Linked DNA regions of Homo sapiens: regions 2, 3 and 4 are each linked to region 1. The links are contacts of gene promoters, found by promoter capture Hi-C in blood cells and fetal thymus (Javierre and others, 2016). All regions are on one chromosome and are shown on one strand. Each heading gives the region's core, a stretch centred on a gene start or on the middle of the fragment in contact. The rest is flanking DNA. Distances are from core to core; before and after follow the strand shown.

The links. Contacts are between HindIII fragments. The CHiCAGO score rates a contact against its expected background, and 5 or more counts as called.
Region 2: the fragment with the promoter of CAMLG here is called in contact with the fragment with the promoter of PPP2CA in region 1 in 11 of 17 cell types (activated CD4 T cells, naive CD8 T cells, neutrophils and 8 more); the score reaches 9.8 in activated CD4 T cells.
Region 3: a contact is called between a fragment that was not itself captured here and the fragment with the promoter of PPP2CA in region 1, in 1 of 17 cell types (fetal thymus). The highest score is 5.5, in fetal thymus.
Region 4: a fragment that was not itself captured here is called in contact with the fragment with the promoter of PPP2CA in region 1 in 1 of 17 cell types (neutrophils); the score reaches 5.0 in neutrophils.

What each region holds. Positions count from the first base shown.
Region 1 is chr5:134,224,727-134,227,426 of GRCh38, forward strand. It overlaps PPP2CA (protein phosphatase 2 catalytic subunit alpha), which reads right to left and starts at 1,347. Exons shown (of 7, transcript NM_002715.4): 1 at 1,034-1,347. The coding sequence starts at 1,135. MIR3661 (microRNA 3661) reads left to right here and starts at 1,031; the gene lies at 1,031-1,126. PPP2CA-DT (PPP2CA divergent transcript) reads left to right here and starts at 1,684. Exons shown (of 1, transcript NR_186539.1): 1 at 1,684-2,700. RefSeq lists enhancers at 637-746, 1,086-1,605, 1,606-2,127, 2,127-2,286, 2,128-2,647. The HindIII fragment of the contact is 2,287 bases long and covers 270-2,556 here.
Region 2 is chr5:134,737,156-134,739,855 of GRCh38, forward strand. CAMLG (calcium modulating ligand) reads left to right here and starts at 1,393. Exons shown (of 4, transcript NM_001745.4): 1 at 1,393-1,637. The coding sequence starts at 1,466. RefSeq lists an enhancer at 981-1,030. The HindIII fragment of the contact is 13,475 bases long and covers 1-2,700 here.
Region 3 is chr5:134,813,137-134,815,836 of GRCh38, forward strand. The region is part of intron 18 of DDX46 (DEAD-box helicase 46); the gene reads left to right. Among named protein-coding and RNA genes, the nearest start is that of C5orf24, 31 kb to the right of the region's middle. The HindIII fragment of the contact is 1,731 bases long and covers 416-2,146 here.
Region 4 is chr5:134,908,824-134,911,523 of GRCh38, forward strand. It overlaps PCBD2 (pterin-4 alpha-carbinolamine dehydratase 2), which reads left to right. Exons shown (of 4, transcript NM_032151.5): 2 at 1,512-1,643. Among named protein-coding and RNA genes, the nearest start is that of PCBD2, 5.0 kb to the left of the region's middle. The HindIII fragment of the contact is 3,581 bases long and covers 1-2,700 here.

The sequences.
Region 1 (2,700 bases), core at 97-2,596:
CCCAGGGGAAAACAAAAGGGAATTAGCTAATATAAAGTTTAGTGTTACTAAGTGGACTACAACATTCTATTTTCAGTGTATGTGAGACATTATTTAAACACTAAGCACAATGTCTGGAATACAATCTCAGTCGACAGTTATTATCACTACTACTACTTGCAGCCACAAAATACTATCAAGTAATTTTTGCAACAAAGATACAAAATTTACCGCTCTTCCATTTTATGTTGTTCATTTTAAAAATAAACGGCAAAATGCCAAGTGTGTTAAGCTTAGAGAAGGCTTTGAGTCAGCATATAAATCATATTCAACCGACACTTGATTTCCAATCCAAAAGCTCCTTATGTAGTATGACTCACCAAATTCCCGATTTCTTCCAACTATGAAAAATAAGTTACACTCCTCCCTTATAGCTACCACCATGACCTTCGTAAAAATTAGGTTAAGAGAATAATTTAAAAATTCTTAAAGACACCCCTTACCTTGATTTCTGGAGAAGATCGCTTGGTGAGTTTAATACAAACCACCAAGGGGTACTAAAGCTGTGTGACCTTTAGGTATGTTCTGGGATACGGCCTAACAAGACTGCCTTTGGGGGATCCTCTGGGCAGCTCTGGACCTAACTAGGCCTGGGTACCAGCGGCAAGACTCTTACTCAGCCCACCGGAGAGGCCCAGGCTCCATTCCCAAGCCGCAGAATCCAAGCCAGCTCACCCTCAAAACCGTCCCTGACGATGACCCACAGGGTCTCCGCTCCCCCTGCCACCTCGTCTGGCGCCAAGGCCGGCTGACTCAAAAGCCCAGGAGTCGAGTGAACGGCGCCATTTTAGGCGGCGGCGGCAACCAATCCCTGCGCGGGAGGCAGGGGGCGCCGGGTCGTTAGGAAGCCGCCGCCGGCCAGGATGGGCGCCGGTCTCGGAGACTCGGGGGGCCCGGACCGGCGGCCTCCGCCATGTTGCACCCTCCTCACGGCCGCCTTTTCCTCGGCGGGCTCGGCCCCGCGGCGGCTGTCCGCAGCCGTACTACAGCTCACCTTCTCGCAGAGGCTCTTGACCTGGGACTCGGACAGCTGCTTGCACTCGTTCAGCTGCTCGATCCACTGGTCCAGCTCCTTGGTGAACACCTTCTCGTCCATGATGCCACCCGCCCCAGCCGGCTGCCGCTCCGCGCTGCTCCCGCGCCGCCGCCCGCACACGGGCCTACACGCACACGCCGCCGCCGGTTCCTCGTGTACTTCTGGCGGCTGTTGAGGCTGGCGCTGGCCCGCTGGCTCTCACCGCAGTACTCGGCCGTCGGCCGCTGCGCCTCCTCCTCCGCTCGCTGAGGCTCCAGAGCTCGGCTCTCTGTAATGGCGGCCGCCGGGCGTGGTGACGTCACGCCCGGCGTCAGGAGGCGGCGGGGAGCGGAGGGGAAAAGGGCCGGGGAGCAAGCTGCGCAACTGCAGAGCCCTCCCCGGGCGGCCGCACGACCGGAGTTGGGGCGCAAACTGGGGGTCAAAGCGCAGGCGCGACGTAGCCGGCTGGTAACTGAAGCGCCTTGACTTTTTGGGCGTGGCTCCCGGAGGGCGGGGTGGTGGGGGAAGGGAAGGATGGAGCTGGAGCATGCGCAGTGCGCACAGCGGCGAACCGGACTAATCCCTGAGCACTATTCCAGGAGAGGCGAGGGCTTGGGCCGCGCGCAGGCGCAGACCGGATGGAAGCCGGGGCCACTGGCAGCCTGTAACTGGTTCCCCTGGGAAGGCCGCTCTGGTGATGAACTCAGCTCCTCACCTGGGGCCTGGCAGTCCGATCACGGAAACGAGAATTGCGACCCCGTGGCTCATCTGGGGTGCTGCGGCTCTGTAATCGTGTGGGTTTCCGTCATCTTTGGGGGCAGGAACGGGCAGCGAGTGGCCGCTTGGATTAACCACCCCCACCTCTGGGCGCGGCTGGCACCTTGTAATTAGGTCACTCGTAGGTGGAGGAGCGTGTACCTACCGGGGGAGTGCTGCGCAGTGCACCTGACTTCCGCGGCACACACCCGTCCCCGGACCTAGGTGTCTCGTCGGGCGCGATGGCGGGGGCGAGGCTTGGGCTTTTCTTTGGGCCTCGGACCGCGGCTCGCTTCCACGCGCCCCGCTCCTCGCCGGTGGTTGCTTTCCTCCAAGTTTAATTCTCTCTGGGAATGAGAGACCCTCAACCCCTGCGCGCCCTGGCCTACTTTCAAGAGGGGAAGCCCAGAGAAGATGGATGCACCTGTCCTGACCGCGTCTCGGTGGCGTGAGAAGCAGCTGTGATACGTGCTTAAAAGAGAGAGCTCGTATACCCTAGGATTGGACCTCTGTCTGGTTATGAATCGCTTTGGAGTTTGCGAAACGTTTTCACATTCCATTGTCCCTGCTTTTACATAAATATCTGGTTCCATAGAGCGCCAGCTATATGCCAGATCCGGAGGGGTCATCCAGACGGACCAGGGACCATGCCCTGGAGCTTGTATTCTCCCAACAGTACTGGCTGAAGATGGTTTGGGATAGGCAGAAGAGAGATCATAATGCCCCCAGGATTTGAAAGATATAGAAGCTTTCCAAAGAACATTTAACCATAAAGGGCAAGGCAAGAGCTGAACCTGATCGCCTGTCTTCCAGGAACCCCACCCTCAGTATCAGGCAACCCTTCCACACCCAAGTGCTCAGCGATGCTTGGGAGGAGACTGCTCACTCTG
Region 2 (2,700 bases), core at 143-2,642, 510 kb after region 1:
CCCTCACAAAGTGCTGGAATTACAGGCATGAGCCACCGCGCCCAGTCATTTGTTCTGATTTTATTTTATTTATTTCTTTTATATATGTATTTTTGAGACGGAGTCTCCCTCTGTCGCCCAGGCTGGAGTGCAGTGGCATGATCTCGGCTCACTGCAATTTCTGCCTCCCAGGTTCAAGCGATTCTCCTGCCTCAGCCTCCCAAGTAGCTGGGATTACAGGTGCATGCCACCAGGTCAGGCTAATTTTTGTATTTTTAGTAGAGACGGGGTTTTGCCATATTGGCCAGGCTGGTCTCGAACTCCTGACCTCAGGTGATCCGCCTGCCTCGGCCTCCCAAAGTTAGGATTACAGACGTGAGCCACCGCTCCCGGCCTTTTTGTTTTTTTCTTTTCTTTTCCTTTTTTTTTTTTGAGACGGAGTCTCGTTCTGTCGCCCAGGCTGGAGCATCTTTAGCATGCGAGGTGGTCATGAACGACAAGGAGAAAAAACAAGGTGAAGGGGAATGGGGAGTGTTGGCAATTTAGATAGAATGTGCACGAAAGGTTTCAATGGGAAATTCTAATTTGAATAAAAACGCACAAAACGCGAGGAAAGCCTAGGAACACATCAGCCGTATACTTTGCCGTAGAGAAGTTAAGGATGAGGAACAGGCACCAAGAACAAATCCCAGCGTAAGGCTCCCTTTAAGTGCGGCTCCCAGGGTTACGTATTCCCATTGCCTACAGGCGAGGCCGCGGGTCTGTAAACAAGCGACTGCCGCTGCAACCTCCATTTTGCTTCCTGGCACCAAATCTAGGCTGACCTACTTACTGCCATCCCTTTCCCACTCCCGGTTTTCTTTTCTTTCTTTTTTTTTTTCTCGAGACAGAGTCTCGCTCTGTAGCCCAGGCTGGAGAACAGTGGCGCGATCTCGGCTCACTGCAACCTCCGCCTCCTGGGTCCAAGAGATTCTCCTGCCTCAGCCTCCCGAGTAGCTGGGATTACAGGCGCGCGCCACCCCGCCCGGCTAAGTTTTTGTATTTTTAGTAGAGACGGGTGGGGGGAGGGGGGAGGGGGTCACCATGTTGGCCAGGCTACTCTCGAAATCGTGACCTCGTGATCCGCCCGCCTCGGCCTTCCAAAGTGCTAGGATTACAGGCGTGAGCCACCACTCCCGGCCCTGGGTGCTGGTTTTCTTCACCTCCGAGTGAACAGCAGAGGGGGCTGTTGGGTGAGGGCCAGAAGAGTTGGGGAGGCACGAGGGCGTCCAGCGCTGCCCTCACTCAAGATGGCGGCCAGAGCCTCGCGCTTGGTCGCGTGGGGCGGTGCGTGAGTGCTTAGCTCACAGGCTCCGGGACCGCGCTCGGGGGCGGGTCTATAGTGGGAAGGGGACGCGCGCCCTGCGGCCCGGCCTCTAGTCATCGCCCTCGCAGCGGCGGCCAACATCACCGCCACTGCCACCCCTCCCAGACTGTGGACGGGAGGATGGAGTCGATGGCCGTCGCTACCGACGGCGGGGAGAGGCCGGGGGTCCCAGCGGGCTCAGGTCTGTCGGCTTCCCAGCGTCGGGCGGAGCTGCGTCGGAGAAAGCTGCTCATGAACTCGGAACAGCGCATCAACCGGATCATGGGCTTTCACAGGCCCGGGAGCGGCGCGGGTAAGAGCCTCGATTTCCCCTCAGTCTCCCGCCCATCACCTTGAATCTTCAGGGTCATTCTTCCCTCTCCCACCTCCACTCCTCTGACCTTTTTGACCAAGCCTTGCTCTTTGATTTCCTCTCTGTCCCGCCCCTTCGGTGATATCCCAAGTTCTCATCCCTGAACCCCAGGATGTTCCTAGTCGCTCCCCTCAATTTTCCCGGGGCCTCGCCGTGAGATTTTCCCCACCCTGCCTGCAGAGCTCTCACTCCCTCTTCCCAGTTACGTTGAACAGCCCCTTTTTTCCTTAGCCACTCCTCGCCTTTCTTGAAGGGCGCACGTTGTATCCCCAGACTGTCATGTCTACTGCTCCCCTTAGGAAGATGGCTTTCCTTCTTAAGGTTCCAAGTGCTTTTCCTTACAGTGCCTTCTCTAGCGTCTACCTTCTTTTGCCTTTTGCTGTGTAACTCCTGTCCGCCCACATCAGCCTGTCTTTACTGAACTGCCCGCTAGTTCATCCTACGTGTATCAGGGACTCTTGTGCTCATATCCTAGTGTTTGTGTTCAGTGCCGTCAACACTGTCACCTACGGGCCGGCTAGAAAAGGTGGGAAAAGTGAGAGTGAGCATTCTTCAGAGACCCAGCAAGTGCGAAGTGCACACCTGAGAGTTTCCTCTCCTCATGAGGGGATATTGTTGTGATTGATGTCTGGAGCTGCATTTCTAAGGAGAGCGCCTCCTTCCTCCCCCAAACACATGTCCAATGATTTTCTTTAAAAAAAATTTATTTCACGTGAGTATAATTGAGCAATTAGCGCGCCCTAGTGTTATCTAAGTTTCCAGTGTTTCCTTTAGTAATTGGCCTTTAGTCACTGGTCGCAAGCTCCTTATATCTTTGTGACTTTTGTTCTGTAAGGCTTTAGGTGTATAGCTCTGAACTTTTAGGCAGTTCAAATGAGAGGTAAGAAAACCATTTCAAATTCTTCTAGAACAATAGAAGAAACATTTTTCTATCGGGCTATTTATTCTTAAAGCATTATTTATGATCTTACCTGAGGTACTTTCTATATTTTGTTCTTTTGCT
Region 3 (2,700 bases), core at 31-2,530, 590 kb after region 1:
GTTTCACCATGTTGGCCAGGATGATCTTGATCTCTTGACTTCGTGATCCGCCTGCCTCGGCCTCCCAAAGTGCTCAGATTACAGGCGTGAGCCACCACGCCCGACCACATTTCATTTTTTAAATTTATCTGTTACCATGTAACAAATCAAAACTTAGCAGGTTAAAGCAATAAACACTTATTATCACATAGTTCCTTATGGTCAGGAAATCAGGAGCAGTTTAGTCAGGTAGTTCTGGCTTAGGCGCTCGTGAGATTGCAGTCATCTGCAGGCTTGACTGTTGCTGGATGATCTGCTTCCAACATCAGTCACTTTGATGTAGATAGGATGCCTCAGTTCTTCACCTCTTTGCCTGTCCTTACCCACATGGCAGCTGGCTTTCCCCACAGTGAGTGATCAAAGAGAGCAAAGAGAAAGCTTTAGTGCTTTTTATGACTGTCTCTGAAATTACACACTGTCACTTCCACTTTATTCTTTATGGGGTTTTTTTTGTCTTGTTTTGTTTTGTTTTGGAAACAGAGTCTGACTCTGTTGCCCAAACTGGAGTGTAGTGGTGCGAACTCAACTCACTGCTGCCTCAGCGATCTTCCCACCTCAGCCTCTTGAGTAGCTGGTACTATGGGTGCACCACCATGCCCTGTTAATATATATTTTAAAATGTTTTTTTTTTTAGAGTCGAGGTCTCACTGTGTTGCCTAGGTTGGTCTGAAATTCCTGGGCTCAAGTGATCCTCCTGCCTCAGCCTCCCAAAGTGATGGTATTACAAACATGAGCCACCATGCCCAGCCCACTTTCTTCTATTAGAAGGAAGTCATTAAGTCCAGCCCACACTCAAGAAAAAAGACTATTAAATAATTTGTAGCCATGTTTTAAAAACATCTGTCACTTTTTGACATTATGGTAGTTTCCTCTTTTCTGTGGTTTTAGTTGCCATAGGTTAACCACAGTCTGAAACTATTACAGTATTTTGAGACCACATTCATATAACTTTTATTACAGTATATTGCTATAATTGTCCTATTTTATTGTTGTTAATCTCTTAACTGTACCTAATTTATAAATTAAACTTTATCATAGGTATGTATGTATAGGAAAAAACAGTGTATGTCGGTGCGGTACTATCTCTGTTTTTAGGCATTCACTGGGGTTCTTGGAATGTATTCCATGTGTAAAGGGAAAACTGCAGTATTTTTAACTGTTTTTTAAAATCTTGTGATAAAATACGGTGATTGTTTCTTCGGGTGTTAAAGTAATATATAATTTTATGAAAAATGTAAACAGTACTTAACACGAATAAAATCAAAAGTAAGGTTAGCTCTACCAGCTAGCATTGTATACTTCCCCCTTTCCTGATTTTATGAATTTGTTCAGATTGTAATACCATGAATGCTATTTAATTTAAAACGGTTTTACTCAGGTAAATGTTGAGTTTTAAAACTAGTTGATAACTGACCCCCTGTTGGTGTTTTCTTGGGGTTTTGTTTTGTTTTGTTTTTATGAGACAGGATCTCACTCCATCAACCAGGCTGGAGTAAAGTGGCGTGATCTTGGCTCACTGTAGCCTCGACCTCCTGGGCTCAGGTGATTCCCCACCTCAGCCTTCTGAATATCTGGGACTACAGGCATGTGCCACCATGCCTGGGTAACTTTTATATTTTTTGTAGAGACAAGGTTTCGCCATGTTGCCCAGGCTGGTCTTGAACTCCTGGGCTCAAGTAATCCTCCTGCCTTGAACTCTCAAAATGCTGGGATTATAGGCAGGAGCCACTGTGCGTGGCCATAACTAAAACCCTTTAATAGGTAATAAATGTTTTAAGAAGAATCTAAGGCTGGGTGTGGTGGCTCATGGCCTGTAATCCCAACACTTTGGAAGGCCATGGTGGGAGGATAGCTTGAGCCCAGGAGTTCAAGACCCTCCTAGACAACACAGTGAGACCCCATCTCTATAAAAAGGTTTTTAAAAATTAGCTGGACGTGCTAGTGCACGCTGTGGTCCTAGCTACTTGGGAGGCCGAGATATGAGGAACCCTTGAGCCTGGGAGTTAAAGGCGACCCTGTCTCAAAAAAATACAAAAGCTAAACGGACTGTTTTTATTGTAGTAAAAGAGCTTTGTAAATTAACCAATTAATTTTTAAGCCCTAAATAAGCTTTTCTGTGCATTTGAGATCTAGAAGATACAGCTTTATTAATCTGATCTAAATTTCTGAAGGGGGCTTGTATTTCTGTAATCAGTGATATCAGTAGTCACTGTTGGGCAAAGGGCATTTTTTAAAAGAAATGCACATAGCAGGCTGGCGGTGGTGGCTCATGCCTGTAATCCCAGTGCTTTGGGAGGCCAAGGTGGGCGGATCACGAGGTCAGGAGATGAGACCATCCTGCCTAACACGGTGAAACCCCATCTCAACTAAAAATACAAAAAATTAGCCAGGTGTGGTGGCGGGCACCTGTAGTCCCAGCTACTCAGGAGGCTGAGGCAGAAGAATGGCGTGAACCTGGGAGGCGGATCTTGCAGTGAGCTGAGATGGCGCCATTGCACTCCAGCCTGGGAGACAGAGCGAGACTCTGTCTCAAAAAAAAAAAAAAAAAAAAAAAAAAGAAATGCACCTAGCAGTAGGGCTCATGTGACTCCTGTCAAAGCAAAGCATTCATCATTGCGCTTGCCTTGATGGGGAAACAACCTGCATTTGTTTCCTTTCTTG
Region 4 (2,700 bases), core at 62-2,561, 680 kb after region 1:
TATTAGTGATAAATGATTTTGGGATTTCTGAAGTGGGAGTGAGTTGCAGCTTAATGGCAGAGAATCCAGGGAATGCAGCTTAGCCCACAGTTGCCCTTTGATGAGGAGCCTTCACTAATGTTCATCTTTCTGGGTGACAGCCTCTCTCTCACCTGAGCCTACAGTAACTCTGCAAGTAGGTAAGGCAAGAAGTATTGCCTGGAATGAGAACCCTGCTTTCCTGACTTCTAGTCAAGTGTCCATATCTTCTCTCTGGCCCTGATGTTTAAAGTTATTTCAGTTAAAAAACCAATAGCATGGGAAGTGTGGGCCTGTTAACCAACAGAACCTGGCTTTGTGAATGTCATCCCCAGGATGCGTAGAAACAGGCCAGACAGTGCACACAAGTGCTTTGGACTGGGCAGTACTCTGGCCAAACTATGGAGAGAGTTTGTCTGACTGGTGCTCTGAGAAGAGGGCTTCATAAACCCACCCCACTGAGGCCAGGGCTTTTTACCTGTAGTCCAGAGGATCTGTGGACCCCCAGAAGTTAGATAAAATCCTATGTAAATGTGCATTTGTTTTTCCCCATCCGGGGATTGGTTTTCATTAGATGTGACAGGAGATGGTAATTCCAAATAGTTAAAACCATCTTTCATTCCTTTGTTCTCAAAAGACAGACCAAAACAAGGCTGGCTCTGTACAAAATAAGCTGTCTCTATGGTATGTTCCCTCTGGCCCCCTTACTGCTGCCTCAAACGTCACAGTTCAGCTTCTCTGGCTTATTAGAGATATAACAGAGAGTAGTGAAGGCTACTGAGGTGATGTAGGGCCATCCAAAGAGCAATAGACCAGGAGTTTGGAGCCTTGAATTTTAATTCTGGTCCTGCCAATAGACTTGCCACAAGTCCTAGAATTCTGCAGTGTCCAAGATGGCCGGTGGTAATAGTCAATCTTTGTTGTATCTGTAATAAACCACAGAAGGGCCGGGCGCAGTCACTCATGCCTGTAATTCCAGCACTTTGGGAGGTCCAGGTGGGCAGATCACTTGAGCTCAGGAATTCAAGGCCAGCCTGAGCAACATGGTGAAAATCCCTCTCTACCAAAAATACAAAAAATTAGTTGGGTGTGGTGGTGTGCACCTGTAGTCCCAGCTACTTGGGAGGCTGAGGTGGGAGGATCATTTGAGCCCAGGAGGCGGAGGTTGCAGTGAGCTGTGATTGCACCACTACGCTCCAGCCTGGGCGACAGAGCGAGACCCTGTCTCGAAACAACCAACCAACCAACCAGAGAAGCTGAATTGTGAAGTTTGAGGCAGCAGTAAGGGAGCCAGAGGTGACATGCCATGGAGGCAGCTTATTTTGCACAGAGCTAGCCTTGCTTTGGTCTCTTTAAGAGAACAAAGGAATGAAAGATGGTTAGAATTTGTTGCCTTTCAGACTTTTCTACATCTCTGCTTAAGGTAAGGAGCCATAAGTTTGAGTTTGAGTAAACTTGTACATTTTCAGATATGAAATGTGTTCTCTTCATAGTCATCAGGTACTCACAGGTTGACTGCAGAGGAGAGGAACCAAGCTATACTTGACCTTAAAGCAGCAGGATGGTCGGAATTAAGTGAGAGAGATGCCATCTACAAAGAATTCTCCTTCCACAATTTTAATCAGGTAATTGTTATAAATTCTTGCTAGGGCTGTGGTCTATTTTAGTCACCTTAGGCCATAACACTTTCTGATTCTGCCAGTTGTCTGGTCCCATGTAGATCTAGGATTCAACTCTTCCCTTCTTTAAGAATTCAGTGATAGAGTGACATCCTTGTTGACAGTTGCTACCACCCACCTGGGTGGTGTTTAGCTCTGGGGGAAGAGGGTGGTTTGTGTTACTTGGAAAACAAATTCTGAAACCACTATTGCTTTGGTATGGTGTTGGTTAGGATATGTAGTTTCTTTTGAAATTTCAAATAACATTAAAAGAGAGTGTAAGCCTTTTATTATTGATTATTATTTTTTGAGACAGGGTCTTGCTCTGTTGCCCAGGCTGGAGTACAGTGGTATGATTGTGGCTTACTGCTGCCTCGACCTCCTGGGCTCAGGTGATCCTCCCACCTTAGCCTCCTGAGTAGCTGGGACTACAGGCATGTGCCATGCCCAGCTAATTTTTGCATTGTTTGGAGAGGCAGGGTCTGGCTATGTTGCCCAGACTGGTCTCAAATTCCTGGCCTCAAGCGATCCTCCTGCCTTGGCCTCCCAATGTGCTGGGAATAGAGATATGAGCCACTGTGCCCAGCCTGAGCTTTTTATACTTATCAGAAAGGGGCATGAATAAAACTGGTTGAGGAAGATGTACCTGCTTGACTTATTTTCCCTGACTTTTTCTGGGCCGTTGGTAATTTTTCTTTCTTCCTGCAGTTAAATTTCTATCTCTCAGTCATCTCCCAGGCTGCACCCTTTTCCCTGACTGGCTTATTTTTCTCCAGCCCAGTAGCCAGATCCTGAACCTTTTCTTAAAACCTGACCTCCCCCTTGGAAGTCAGCTTTAACAAGGTAACTGTTCCATTAGGGACCCACCCTGTTTAGAGAGTCATCTCCCATGACTTAACCTTCAGTTATTACACCACTGCATTTGTAAAAGGTAAATGCTTTTGACTATTTTGTTTGTTCAGTTAGTTTGGTAATCCTTTGGACAGATTTATTGTTTTTATTTATATTGGGTGTCGGCATCTAG